Linked DNA regions of Homo sapiens: regions 1 and 2 are each linked to region 3. Evidence: promoter capture Hi-C in 16 types of primary human blood cells and fetal thymus (Javierre and others, 2016). All regions are on one chromosome and are shown on one strand. The core of a region is centred on a gene start or on the middle of the fragment in contact, and the rest is flanking DNA. Distances in the headings are between cores, read along the strand shown. Region 1 overlaps HECW2 (HECT, C2 and WW domain containing E3 ubiquitin protein ligase 2). Region 2 overlaps STK17B (serine/threonine kinase 17b). Region 3 holds the start of SF3B1 (splicing factor 3b subunit 1).

The links. The method cuts DNA at HindIII sites, captures the fragments that hold promoters and counts their contacts. A CHiCAGO score of 5 or more calls a contact.
Region 1: a fragment that was not itself captured here is called in contact with the fragment with the promoter of SF3B1 in region 3 in 1 of 17 cell types (neutrophils); the score reaches 5.1 in neutrophils.
Region 2: a contact is called between a fragment that was not itself captured here and the fragment with the promoter of SF3B1 in region 3, in 1 of 17 cell types (erythroblasts). The highest score is 7.3, in erythroblasts.

Annotation. Positions count from the first base shown.
Region 1 is chr2:196,264,335-196,267,034 of GRCh38, reverse strand. The region is part of intron 17 of HECW2 (HECT, C2 and WW domain containing E3 ubiquitin protein ligase 2); the gene reads left to right. Among named protein-coding and RNA genes, the nearest start is that of HECW2-AS1, 5.7 kb to the right of the region's middle. The HindIII fragment of the contact is 8,514 bases long and covers 1-2,700 here.
Region 2 is chr2:196,163,734-196,166,433 of GRCh38, reverse strand. All of the region lies in intron 1 of STK17B (serine/threonine kinase 17b), which reads left to right. Among named protein-coding and RNA genes, the nearest start is that of STK17B, 6.5 kb to the left of the region's middle. The HindIII fragment of the contact is 1,306 bases long and covers 756-2,061 here.
Region 3 is chr2:197,433,727-197,436,426 of GRCh38, reverse strand. It overlaps SF3B1 (splicing factor 3b subunit 1), which reads left to right and starts at 1,399. Exons shown (of 25, transcript NM_012433.4): 1 at 1,399-1,455. The coding sequence starts at 1,428. RefSeq lists enhancers at 951-1,000, 1,021-1,330, 572-1,771, 1,516-2,062. The HindIII fragment of the contact is 13,845 bases long and covers 1-2,108 here.

The DNA.
Region 1 (2,700 bases), core at 36-2,535, 1.2 Mb after region 3:
TTTCATTCTGGGTAGATTAGATCATTCCATATTTTATGTTATCAGGAAATCAGTAACTTGGGAGTCAAGAAATTCTGAACCACAAAAGGCAAATGGATATGTGTCTCAGGATTCACCAGACTAGAGGCAAATGCAGACTTGAACCTTCTATTTCCTTTCATTATCCTATTTGAAGAGCCCTGGGGTTTTGTTAGAGTTTAATTTTACTCTTAATTTTTTTATTTTAAAAATAATGGCCCATTTTGAAGTTTATCAAACAATACAGAATTTTAGTTAATAAAAAGTTAAAGTTTCAAAAGCTATCTTTCTTAAGATAAACCCTAGTGTTCAAAATTGCTAACCTATTTCTTTTCTAGCTTTGTGGCAAATGAATTTTTCTGCATATAATATTAGACTGGAAATGTTAGTCTTGGTTAACAACTGAAGTACTTGGTGAAAATAGCATGAATTTACTTCTGATGATCCATATGCATTTTCCTGTTAAGACCTGCCTAGCTCTCTCCCTTAGTCCTCTCCTGATTTGTTTACTTATCACTCAGATGTCTGGACCAACATGGCAAACTTCTGATCTTTGCTGTACCAAACTTAAATAATAGCAAATCTGGACTGAGACTATTATTTTCCTACAGACAGTTTACATAGGGATAATTATTGAATTTTTAAAGACACCTTTTTTTTTTTCTTTTGAGGCAGGGGGTCTCACTCTGTTGCCCAGGCTGCAGTGTAGTGTCGCGATCACAGCTGACTGCAGCATCAACCTCCTGGGCTCAAGCCATCCTCCTGCCTCAGCCTTCCAAGTAGCTGGGACTACAGGAGCACACCACCTTGCCCCGCTAATTGTTTTGTGTTTTTTTTTTTTTTTTTTTAATAGAGATGGAGTCTTGCTATGTTGTACAGGTTCATTTTGAATACCTGGGCTTAAGAGATCCTCCTGCTTCAGCCTCCCAAAGTGCTGGGATAACAGGCATGAGCCACTGTGCCTGGACACCTGATTAAAATAATTTATTGACACCACATAGTAATGGTCATTGGGAAGTCCTAATAGTAGACTCTGTCTCACTGGGAGAGCAGCAGTAATGGCTCTTAGAAGGTAGTTGAGTATAGCTCTTAAGATTTTGTTCAGGTTTGGAGCCAGAAAGGCCTAGGTTTGAATTCTGGCTCTGCAATTTACCCACCAGGTGACTTCGAATGAGACATTAAACAACCTCCAAGTTGTCATCCTCGTCTGTAAAATGGGGATCGGAATTTCTAACTTCCAGCATCTTTTTGAAGATTAAATGAAATAATATATGTATAAACCATTTGATACTGTGTAAGCATAGTAAGCATATAGTAAATTTAAATCAATATTATATTAGTAGTGTGCCCTTCACTTCTTTGTTCTATCAGAAGGACTCAGTTTAAAGTAATTTGCCCCTAAACTTACTCTAATTCTAAAAACCACTATTCCTGAAATTAATCATGCATATAAATGGACCAGTGTGATTCTGTGGATATAATTTAAATGCAACTAGGATCTAGGATCTCTTTTCCTTTTGGGGGTGGGGAGCGGACAGAGTCTCACTCTGTCACCCAGGCTGGAGTGCAGTGGGCACAATCTCGGCTCACTGCAACCTCTGCCTCCCGGGTTCAAGCAATTCTTGTACCTCAGCCTCCTGAGTAGCCAGAACTACAGCAATGCACTACCATGCCCGGCTAATTTTTGTATTTTCAGTAGAGATGGGGTTTCACCATGTTGGCCAGGCCAGTCTTGAACTCCTGGCCTCAAGTGATCTGCCTTCCTGGGCCTCCCAAAGTGTTGGGATTATAGGCGTGAGCCACCCTGCCTGGCCATCTTTAATTCAACTATTAATTTGTTTATAGGAGGGCTTTTTAGTGGTGCTGTCACATTGTTTCCTACAGGGAGCGTTACTCTAAAATATTTTACATTTACACAATAAAACCAGCCTTGACTGCTCCATGCCTAGACTGAGGACTGAGCCTTCTGGCTCAAGGTTTAGCTGGAAATTACTGAGGGCCAAAATATCATGGCAATATCATTAAGATAACGTTTTAGAAGCCATCCAAAGGTATATTAAAATACCTTTCCAAGGAACTAATTATCTTGTAGGCCTATTAAGAGATTAGAGACTTTCTTCTTCAGGGCAGTAAGGAACACAGATTCTTAGAACCTGTCATCTATTCTATGACTTCTGCAAAAGGAATAAGTGCTAGTCATGTTTTATTTGAATGGATGTACTAATTTATAGATCTGCATATGCTTTTGAATTGTATATCACGTATATATCTAATTTTCACATTTTTGATGCATGGAATCTCTTTTAACTATTAATGTCAACTTGAAGACAACTGGACAGTCAATCACCTAAAATTTAAAAGGCCCAAAACAGGAACTCCAATAGCCAAAATTAGTTTAGGTTCTTTTCATAGTATCACTCTCAGATATTTGTTAAATTATTTTCTGATAAACATTGTTCTCTGATGTAACTTTGAAAGATTCCCCAAATTATACATGCATTCATCCACTGGATATTTCTCCAAAGTATTGTGTTTTTTTGCTAATAAGTGGTTCAATCATGATTTTCAAGATGGTTTTCTTACATGAGGAATAATAATATTTTAGGTACATCTGTTTTACTGTTGATTTTTCCTACATTCTGTTATATTTATGAAGAAAACAGTTCAGTAAAATGTCATTTT
Region 2 (2,700 bases), core at 159-2,658, 1.3 Mb after region 3:
TATAGGTAATTTAGAATCGGTAATATGAAGTGTGGTAGAAGACAAGAAAAGGCCTGGGAATTGTTGGAGTTAAAGAGAATTTGGTGGGAAATTTAGGAAGATACAAGAAGGAGCGACAGAGAGCTGACTCATAACCTGCATGTACCTTATATGAAGGGCAACCAGATGTTTGAGGAGGGCTTGGTGGACAAAGGTGACATTCATGCTCCACTATATGCAAAACTGGCCAAAGGAGAGGAAATGGAAAAATATCTTGGCTCTGACAATTGGTTCAGATGCAGTAAATAAAAGGAAAATGAACTTAAGAAATGCTTAATGGATGCCTAAAGCAGCTTGTGATGTAGGTATATTTTTAATAAATAGATGAACTTATGAGGAAATTGGTACCCATATTGATCTTTCAGAACAATGGAAAAAAATCAGTGAAACTGAGCGCTATCAGAACTAAGAAGATACATAAGTAGTTAAAACAGAAAACAAAAATACTTTTAAGAATGAAGTTTAGACTAAGTTGGGATGAGAATTTTGTACATGGAAACAGTACAGCTGTTCAACAATGGCAGGGAACTGCAGGGAGAGTATTTTTGGGTAGAATGTTAATTTTGTTTTGTGGAACAATAGCGATATGCCCTTGTGACTTGCACTGTACCTGTGTCAGTGGACATGAGTTCAGCATATTTTAATTTTTAATCCTTGCAGCACTGGAAGATCAATTCTTTTATCATCCATACTTTAGAGGCAGCAAAATCGAAGCTTTCTTCACCAGTAAAAGGGAATGCGAAGTAAATCACAACAAAATTCCATTTCACCTTCATCACACTAGAATAGCCAAACTTAAAAGTCTGAATTGGGCAAGTATTGTCAAAGTAGTGATAAACCGTCCCATCCAGTGCTAGTGGGAGTGTAAACTGGGGGTGGAAAGAAGGGGCTATGTCTAATATGTTTTATTTTTAATTTAAATGAAATATGACCAAGTAATAAGATTGGAAAGTAAATGTTTGTATATAGTGTTCCTTATCTTACATTTGAAATATTATATATTTTGTTTTCTTTTTAAATAACTGTGTTGCCGCAGATCAGGCGACTTAACAGAAGTATATTTTCTCAACGATTCTGGAGGCTAGAAATCTGGGATCAGGGTGTCTGCGGGGTTGGTTTCTTCTGAGGCCTGCCCTCTTGGCTTGTAGATGGCTGCCTTCTCCTAGTGTGTTCACATAGTCTTTCCTCTGTGTGTGTCTGTGTCCTAATTGGCCCACTTTAATGACCTCATTTTAACTTAATCACCTTTTTAAAGGCCCTGTCTCCAAAGACAGTCACATTATGAGATACAGGGGTTAGGGTTTTTCAACTTAGGAATTTGGGGGAGGACACAATTCAGCCCATAACAATAGCAAAGTTAAATAATTTAATTAAGGTCTCATAGCTGGTATGATGGATGAATGGAATTCAGACCCAGGTGTCTTTCAGTCTAAAGGTTATTCTCAGAATGCTACACTACAACCCTTTGACTCCTAGAGATGTACCCCAAAACTAGTTAGAGCTGTTTCCCCAAAGACTAAGAGATGTAGAGAAAACAATTTTACTATCTAGTTATGTGAAAGCTATAATTTTAATTTAATTTTTTGAGACAAGGTCTCCATCTATCGCCCAGGCTGAACTGCAGTGACGCGTTCATAATTTGAGAATAACACCAAGAAGAGAAAATGTAGAAACTGAAAACGCTGAACTCTAATGACACTGCTTTTTGGCTAAGTAGACTATAGTTGGCATTTGAATTTAAGAAGATAAAGAACAGTACATATAAGTAGAAAATAGGAAAAAAAGATGTCAGAGGAGGAACAAATGCTTAGCGGGTTACTACAGGAGGGTGCTAAAAGAATAATAATTGATATTTTATTAAGTAGGCATAGCAATAAGTCATAAGTGTCTTGAAATATAGTATCTGTTATTGTTTTATGAATGCAATTAATATAATAGTTTTGATAACACTGAATGCATATAAACATCACAAATTTCCAGATACATATATGAGCTTCAGATACAGAACTTCGAAATAAAGCTTTATGTATAGGTTAGTCACTCTTCCAACAAAATTATTGAGCACTTCATACATAGCAGGCTCTGTGCTAGGTCCTGTCAAAGGAGGGACTCTTAAGACCTTTGAGAGTTTCTGAGTTTAGTACTGAAACATAGCCAATCCGTGGAAGAAGTTCTATTTCTTGTAGTCCTTCACGTCAGTAATATAACTCACAATATGTGCATTTACCACCAAATTTCTTTAGCCATGTGAAAATAAGTTTAAAATGAATAATTATTATCTTGTCGTATTAAATTACCTATTATGTGAAACCTATAACTTTATTTATTTATTTATTTATTTATTTATTTATTTATTGAGATAAGATCTCGCTTTATTGCCCAAACTGAACTGCAGTAGCACATTCATAGCTCACTGCAACCTCAAACTTCTGGGCTCAAGTGATGCTCCTGCCTCAGCCTCCCAAGCAGCTGGGACTACAGGTGCGAGCCACTACACCCAGTTAATTTTTAAATTTTTTCATAGAGATGGGATCTCGCTATGTTGCCAGGACTGGTTTTGAACTTCTGGCCTCAAGTGATCCTCCTGCCTCAGCCTCCCAAAGTGCTGGGATTATAGGCGTATACCACCATGTCCAGCTGAAACCTCTATAACTTTAAAGA
Region 3 (2,700 bases), core at 150-2,649:
GTTAGGGTCAGCTGTGATCGCACCACTGCCCTCCAGCTTGGGCAACAAACCAAGACTGTGTGTCAAAAAAACAGAAAAAAAATCGTTTGTGTCACCTGATCTGAAGAAGGGAGGGAGTCTGGTGAGAGGGAAAGAGGGAGCAAGGCTGCAGGTCAGGAGTCACCAGGGACAGGTTATCTAAGCTCTCAGTCCAGTGCCATTGTCCATATATCTCCCACCTACCGCTAGCCTCAGGAAAATGGCTCCTCACTTTACCCAAAGTAGATATGGGGTCTTCCTGCAAGAGGAATACACCCATACCATTTCCCTCCCTTCAAACGACCATACTGACCCATGGTATGGTTAGTATTTGGGTTGCAGGTTTATCACATAGCGAGGTACTCCTCTCTTTGTGATGGCTCTAACCTTGATAACTACCTGTTTTCCTCGGCTGCTTCCGGGACCCATCTTTCTGAGCCTTTCTTTCTTTTTCATCGTCGAAGTCAAAGACCAGTGTGACAGTACAAGGTTATATTATAATTGATGCCCAGGAAAACAGACTGCCGTATTCTGATCTATTAAAATTCCTGATTTAGGAATACCGTCTAGGATTTAAGAGAAACATCTAATGAATGTTAATAATGACGATGAGTGGTTTTCTAGGAACCCATAAAGTAAAAGGCTTTAAAAGGGTGGCAAGATTGTCACTGTGCAACTCAGCAACGATTTGTGAGGCTCAACGAAATTCCTACCCAAATTATTTGCAATTATTAAACAGAAAGAATGAAAAATGACCTTGAATTACAGGGCGAAAGATGGGACTGTTAAGACTGTCTTCGTAACTAAGCACTGTAAAGACTGAGACAGCTGCAAGGGAAAGTTTTCCTCGAGCTCTTCCAGTGAATTTTGGGAAAAGGGATTGAATGTCTGAGGTCTCTTCCAGCTCTGAAACCGCAGCGTTTCGTACAGTGTTCATTTTTTTTTAATGGGAGGGGTCTCGGGGTCTTGCTCTGTCGCCCGGTCTGGAGGCTTGAGTACAGTGGCGCGACACGATTACGGCTCACGGCTGCCTCGAACTCCTGGGCTCAAGCGATGCTCCCGCCTCAGCCTCCAGAGTTGCTGGGACTCAGTGTCTGTTCTTAACTCCCTTCGTAGAATCCACTTTCCTCCAGGGCAAAGTTACTCACTTAAGGACCTTACGGCTCGGCTCGGGGATTTCCTGGGTCACCACGCAGGCGACTTCAGGGCCCAACCGTGTCTCCTCCCCCACCCACAATGCACCTCGCGGTTCCCTCTAGGTGGCAGTTCTGTCACGTGTCACCCGACGGAGCGCGCTCCCGTTTGGCGCACGCGCAGAGTGCAGCCCCCAGCTATTTTTCTCCGTGGCGGCGGCGACGAGCGGAAGTTCTTGGGAGCGCCAGTTCCGTCTGTGTGTTCGAGTGGACAAAATGGCGAAGATCGCCAAGACTCACGAAGGTAAGCGGTCTTTCCCTGCTTACGTGTTTTCTTCGTTGCTAGCCTAATAAAAGCCTTTTTTCCTAGGATTCTGCCTTTTTCTATGGTTTCTTTCGTAGGAGCTGAGCCCGCGTTTCGGGGCCAAGGGTCGTCTCCTCCGCGCCAGCGGCGCAGGCCACTGCCCCGCGTAATGGCGTCCTCCTCTTACACCCCCGACAGGCGCTTTGTTCAGTGTTTGGGACCTGCTACTTCAGAGTAGCTTCTCTTCTCTGACCAGAGGGCCTCGTTTAAGCGGCTTCCTCAGTAGGATTCGTGGGCAAGGGATCGGGGAAGCGGGCGTGGGGAGAAGGTCTCACTCGCCTCTCGACACTGTCGTCCCCATAGTTTGTGCAGAAGAGGGTCAGAAAAGCACTGAAATACGGCAGCCGCTTTTCCGGCAGACTGAATCGAATTTGGTTAAACCGAGATTCCGTTACTCCTACCCTTGTGTGTCTTCAAGCGTCAGTTACTTGTTTATTTTTCTTGCACGAAACGATTTGGGGATAAAATCTGGTAGTTGTTTTCCCTCCCTTAGTCACTTTTAGTATAATATTGATCTTTTTCTTTGGAGACTGGTTATTGGAGGAGCAGATGGAAGAGGAAAACATAAATTACTTTCATTAATGGCCGAAGCTTTCAAGCTAGTTGATCGTTTTATGGAATACAGAGTGTGCAAATTAGGAAAACGTTGGGAATAGACTGGAGTTCATTAGGAAGTATCCAGAGATGACAGAAAATGGGATCACTTTTCAGAAAAGACGAGGCATGAGAAGTTGGAACTGCATTCTTTGATTTCTGACTTGGAATCCGAGATTTTCACTGAGAACGAGACTTCTAAGTCACTTTTGTTTCATATGTTCTTTCTGGGTATTTGGCTCGGTATTAGTCTGTGAGAGGTAAGAGACTGAGGCCATCCAAAATTTTACAGTCTGATAGGAGAAACAGATGTGTATGTTCTCATTCTCTCATGAGGCCAGATGCATGCTTAAGTAGAAGAAAAAGCAGCATGTTCTGGGAACCTGGGTAACGGAATGATTATGTTTAGGGTTGTTTCACTGAGGAGGTTACATGACCGTGTTTTAAAAGGATCAGTCAGTTTTAAATCGGGAAGGACATCTGAGCCTGAGAACATCTTGTAACAAGGTATTGAATCGTGAAAGGTGTGTTTGAGTAGTAGTCCACTGTAGCAGGAACAGAGGGTGCAAGTAGAGAAGAAATAAATGAATC